2 separate regions of the Homo sapiens genome follow, and region 2 is linked to region 1. Evidence: promoter capture Hi-C in 16 types of primary human blood cells and fetal thymus (Javierre and others, 2016). All regions are on one chromosome and are shown on one strand. Each heading gives the region's core, a stretch centred on a gene start or on the middle of the fragment in contact. The rest is flanking DNA. Distances are from core to core; before and after follow the strand shown. Region 1 holds the start of YWHAE (tyrosine 3-monooxygenase/tryptophan 5-monooxygenase activation protein epsilon). Region 2 overlaps PITPNA (phosphatidylinositol transfer protein alpha).

Region 1 (2,730 bases), core at 117-2,616:
GGGAAAAAGGTTAAACAGGAGAAGACAAAGATCAGTGTGAGGGGAAAGTTGAGGCGTGAAAACTGGAGCTCCCCTGTCCCTGACAACTGTAACAGGGCCCAGTTCGTTTTTTTTCTTTTTCTTTGTTTTGAGACAGAGTTGTGCTCTTGTTGCCCAGGCTGGAGTGCAATGGTGTGCTCTCGGTTCACTGCACCCTCCCACTCCCGGGTTCAAGCGATTCTCCTGCCTCAGCCTCTGGAGTAGCTGGGATTACAGGCATGCACCACCACGCCCAGCTAATTTTTGTATATATATATAATTTTTCTTTTGAAACACAGTCTCACACTGTCGCCTGGGCTGGAGTGCAATGGGAGGATCTCGGCTCACTGTAACCTCCGCCTCCCGGGTTCAAGAGATTCTCCTGCCTCAGCCTCCTGAGTAGCTGGGATGACAGGCATGCACCACCATGCCAAGCTAATTTTTTGTATTTTTAGTAGAGACGGGGTTTCACTATATTGGCCAGGCTGGTCTCGAACTCCTGACCTTGTGATCCTCCCGCCTTGGCCTCCCAAAGTGCTGGGATGACAGGCATGAGCCGCCGCGCCCGGCCAGGGCCCGGTTCGTTACCCTGAGTCTAAAAGTGTCTGAAAAAGGCCCATGACCAGGCTTGGCCGAGAAAACTAGGACGTGGGCTGGGCGCGGTGGCTCACCCCTGGAATCCCAGCGCTTTGGGAGGCCGAGGGGGGGCGGATCATCTGAGGTCGGGAGTTCGAGACCAGCCTGGCCAACATGGTGAAACCCCATCTCTATTAAAAATACAAAAGCTGGGGGTGGTGGCGGGGGCCTGAAATCCCAGCTACTCGAGAGGCTGAGGCAGCAGAATCACTTGAACCCGGGAAGGCGGACGTTGTGGTAACCCGAGATCGCACCACTGCACTCCAGCCTGGGGAACAAGAGGGAAACTCCGTCTCAAAAAGAAAAAAGAAAAAAGAAAAAAGAAAAGAAAACCAGGGCGCGGTAGTGACAGCCTCAGATTTCGGGAAAGAAGACCTGCCATGACAGAAACCGTTACAGCCTCCGTCGTTCTTTTCCGCAGGTCGGGCCTCGGGCCCCGGTCTGACCCAGGTCTCTCGCTGGCTTTTTTCAGGAGCAGTCCCGGCCGGCCCCGCCTCAGCCCTTCTCGTTCCCCGGGGGCCGCTCCCTTTCGGCAGTCGCAGTTCCCGCCTCTGGGCTCCGGCGCCCGCTGAGCCGACAGAGGAGAGGCGTCTCGTGCGCTCGTTCCAGCCGCTTCGGGCGCCGAGTTCCAGGACCCGCCCCCCGCGCCAGTTGCCAGGGAGCGGTTGCCATAGAGCTGAGCAGTTGTCCGCGTGCGCAGGCGGAAGTCCCGGATTGAGGCGCCGCCATTTTTGCTGCCCGGACGCGGAGCGAGAGGCTGAGAGAGTCGGAGACACTATCCGCTTCCATCCGTCGCGCAGACCCTGCCGGAGCCGCTGCCGCTATGGATGATCGAGAGGATCTGGTGTACCAGGCGAAGCTGGCCGAGCAGGCTGAGCGATACGACGGTGAGTTGGGGGGGCAACGGGGGGCTGGAATTCTCGGACCCTCTGCCGCCGCCCACAGAGGCCGGGAACAGGAGACAAAATGGCGGCATCGTCTGCGAGCCTGGCCCGGGGGCTTGGGTTCGGGAAGCAGGAAATGGCCTGGGAGCTCCCGGGGCGATGGGAGGCTCTATGCCCTGGAATGTGACCCCTTCGCCGTCCTTAACTGCAAACAACTCGCGGGCCGGGAGGCCGGGGCGACGGGGTGGAGGAGTTGGTTGTAAAATGGCGGCTGGGGGGAGGGCGAGTCCCGGGGCGGGGGAGGGGGAGGAGATGGCGGGTGCTGTCTCCGAACGAGCCACCCTCATGGGAGCTTCTGGGACGGCCTTGGGATGTGGAGAACAATTGGGTGGGGTGACGGGGGAAGCAGCACCCGCCACATGGGAGAGAGCGAAGACCGGGAGCTGTAGCGCGGGCGCCTTTCAGGGAAATATGGCGGGTGGGGGCGGTGGCTTTTCCCCGGAGGCCCCGTGTGGGGCGGCGGCCGTGGAGTCTCACAAAGGAGGACCTTTGAGAGCGATGGGCTTCCTCAGGCCTGAGGTGGGGGACAGTCGTGGATGATGGTGGGGGGAGAGGGGTGAGTGGGAATCACTGCAGTTCGTCTTCGGGCGGTGGCAGGCTCCCATGCTGCGATCGGGTTTCTTTCCCGTAGGCCGGCACCTCGTAGTGAGGGGTTTCGGGGCTTTTCCTCCTCGTCGTCTTCTGGGGAGGCCCAGAAAATCCTCACTCCCTCCCTTTCCTCAGACTTAAAACAGGAGATCTCGAAGTTCCTGTAACCTTTCTCTGGCTCCATCACCCGTGGGTTCTGATGGATAGAACCAGGAGGCCACGACTCTGAGAGTTCGAGCCTTTGTAGAGCCCGAGCCTCCGTCCCCCCGTTTGTAAAAACGATGACTTTACAGTTTGTGCGCACCGTGATGACAAATGGGAAGACCTGTTGAAATAAAGTTATTTCCAATAGTGTTCAGTAACTGTATTTTGGTTGACTCTGCAGGCTCGGAATGCTGGTCTGTACTTCGTGGGGGATCTTAACCTATTCCAGGCGCTCGGCTGAGGCTGGGTTTTTTGAGTTATGAAGGTTGAAGATCCTGTTGCTTTCTTTTTTTCCGTTTTAAATAAATGGGTTTATGTAGAAATATTAGTAGGTCCTCTT
Region 2 (2,890 bases), core at 201-2,700, 160 kb before region 1:
TCGCTCTGCGCGGGCCGAGGGCGCGGGCTCAGCCGGGACTGCAGGCGGCGCTGAGAGGCCCCGCGGCGGCCGAGGAAGAGGCGCACCGGGGCAGGCAGGGCCTCCCGGCGGTGGGGAAAGGTGGAGGGCCGAACAGTTCACACGGAGAGCCGGGTGGATGGGTCAGAGGCTCCGCGATGGAGTTGGGATGGGGATGGGGAGGAGTGGCCGCCTTAGGCATCGGGTGAGGGGTGGTGGTAAGTGGACACAGGAGGAGGACTAGGAAGTCAGGGCCTGGCTGGGGAGACAGGTGAAGGGTCTGAGGACATGCAGAGGGGGCTGAGATGCGGGCCGGAGTAACCGTGGTGCCCAAGCAGCTGGTGCGGAAGAGGAGGCTTTTGGAACAAGCTTGGGATGACTGCTTGGGACGTGGGGAGACTTGGGCGAGGAGGCCAGAAAATGTTGGGTAGGGTCCGAAGTGGAGAAGGCCGGGAAGTTACCGGGGTCGAGGCTGGTCCGGAAAGAGAGTATGTTGGGATGAGTATACCTGCCGTTGGAGATGGGGGAGACCAGGGCAGGGCCAGCTTGTTTCTAGGGGATTCTCAGTCTTGGTGCAAAGAGATGGGGAAATTCTTTGAGGAATTGAGGGGTCCATGGAGCCGTGAACTGAGGAGAGATGGTGGAAGGGGTGGGGAGCTCTTGAGTAGTGAAGAGGGGTGCGTGGGAAACTGGTGACTTCTGGAAGGAGTTGCAGGATGACGGGTTTGCTCCTGAAATCCAGGGGACTGGGGGACAGGTGGAGATGTTTGGTGTGCTAAATCTTTCAAGTACAAGATGAGCCATCGTTGAAGCTCAGGGTTCCAAGTAAGCATCACAGGACATTTTTCTCCCCAAAGAGGAGAGATAGGATGGGTGTGTGTGTGTGTGTGCGTGTGCGTGTGTGCACAGAATTTACAGTGAAACTGCTTTCCTGGAGGGAGGGCCAGAAGCCCCAGGAGTGGGAGATGGTCAAACAGAGAGCAACTTGTGAGGCAGCCAGGCAGGTGTGCAGAGAGCTCTTGCCACTTTGTCAGCGATCGCACTTTGACCATCCCCACCAGGCTGGCTCCTTGGAGGTGCTTAGGACATTTAGGACATAGAGTGGAGTTTGGGTAACAGAGGGAGCTGAGACCCACATGTCATCCCAGCTAAACACCTCATCTGAAGAGCATTATTTTGAGGCCTCATCCCCTCTGTTTCTTGACATCCAGTCTGATGTTAATTCAGCCAGGGCTCGGAGCTTTTCCTGGTGAGGAGGAAGAACTTTACGATGCCAACAGGAGAACGTGGTGCACTTTAGATTTTAATCTTCAGTGTCCAGACTGACAGGCTTTTCCCATCCTTCTGATTCTTTTTCCTGTTCCCAAATGAACCCTAGAATCTGTAGAAATCTGTGGTTTTGAAATGAAGGTCAGGCAGGGAAAGGAAGGGACCTTCAGAGGAGATCTGAGTGAGGTTTGAAGAGAGGCACTCCTTCCCTGTCTTTGTTCTCCTCCCCTTGAAGCCTGCAAGGGAAAAGTCCAAGGTGCCGGAGATGCAGGGCCTGCCTGGTATCTGCGTTTCCTTCCTGCCCGACTCGTGCCCCGTGTGTGCATCCCTGGGCGGGGGACGGGGGAGGAGCAGGGGCATCAGGGCATCCGAGACACTGGCTGTGGCCGCAGCGTTGCAGCCCTGGAAAGGGTGCGAGTGAAGGTCACATTAGAGTGAGTGCCGCTCCAGGCCCAGCCCGGCAGTTCCTCTGTGGCCCTGTCCTTTGGAATTGTACCCTATTGCTGCCGAAGTGGTTTTGTTCCTAAGGAGCAAGGGGGCAGTGTCAGAGTGTGCAGCCGTCACGTCAGCAGCCTCAGCGCATCCCGTCAGGAATTGGCCCATGGCATTCTCTTTTGGGGTGAGACTTGGTTCCCACCCAGCGTCTGCAGGTTGCCCCTGTTGATTTTTCCAACACTTCCTCTAACAGGATTCTGTTTAATTTGATTTCTGCAAAATCTTGGATGTGATTTTGACTGCTGTTCTTGAAGATAAAAGGCTTATTGTTTTCTAGGAAGTTTCTTCTGAGGGTGCAGAAATTCTGGCCTCCAAGTTGGGAGTATTTTTCTGCACCACTGGCTTTCTGTAATGGGAGGGGAGGCTCACTGGCAGCATTCAGTAAACTGGAGGATTTATGTTGTTTGAGTTGCTCTGGAGGAAGGGAGTTGTTAGCAGGCAGTAAAGACTTGGAGCCCATTTTGTTTTTCCTGCTACTTTCCTGCTTGGTGTCTTGCCTTTGAGGTGATGTTTTCCTCAGACCCCTCTGTGTCCTTCTTGCTTCCTGGGGGACCTTTGTGGAACTAGAAAATAGCTGTTTACTAGCCTGGAGCAAGGAGCCTGAGTGGTGAGCCGGCTGCATAAGGAAGGCACAGCAGCTCATGCTTCCCTAATGCTTCACTAAACATGCAAGACACAAAAGGACCCAGAGGGCTCCAGCAAGGGTCTGGGGACCGAACGTCTAAGCTTGGAAACTGGCTGGACTTGTATGGGTAAAACCAAGAGTTTTTGTCTTAGCTCTCCCGCCTCACAGCTTTGAACTGGGGGTGGCTCTTGGTCTGCATTTCACATGCACGGCACCTGGAGAAGTGCTGCTAGCCCTGGCACCTCTGTGGGGTTCTGGCCCTGGCGGAGACTTTGCCGGCCACGGCTTCTCCAATAGGTTGCTGGTGGCATCTCCAGCAATTGGTGGTCATTGAGTTGGAGAAGAAGAAAAGAAAATGATAAATTGGGATTCCTTTGGACAGCTCCTGGAGGTCAGGACATAAGTTGAATGCCCTCTTGGTGGCTTTGTGGTAGCAGCTTGGATTGTAATATCCAGCCCCGAGCAGAGATGCCCGGTGTGTGT

The links. Contacts are between HindIII fragments. The CHiCAGO score rates a contact against its expected background, and 5 or more counts as called.
Region 2: a fragment that was not itself captured here is called in contact with the fragment with the promoter of YWHAE in region 1 in 4 of 17 cell types (naive B cells, naive CD4 T cells, neutrophils and 1 more); the score reaches 7.1 in naive B cells.

Annotation. Positions count from the first base shown.
Region 1 is chr17:1,398,858-1,401,587 of GRCh38, reverse strand. YWHAE (tyrosine 3-monooxygenase/tryptophan 5-monooxygenase activation protein epsilon) reads left to right here and starts at 1,366. Exons shown (of 6, transcript NM_006761.5): 1 at 1,366-1,541. The coding sequence starts at 1,478. RefSeq lists enhancers at 868-1,505, 1,506-2,143, 2,144-2,730. The HindIII fragment of the contact is 7,246 bases long and covers 1-2,730 here.
Region 2 is chr17:1,559,152-1,562,041 of GRCh38, reverse strand. All of the region lies in intron 1 of PITPNA (phosphatidylinositol transfer protein alpha), which reads left to right. Among named protein-coding and RNA genes, the nearest start is that of PITPNA, 2.2 kb to the left of the region's middle. RefSeq lists a silencer at 1-87 and enhancers at 198-297, 1,212-2,178. The HindIII fragment of the contact is 2,121 bases long and covers 390-2,510 here.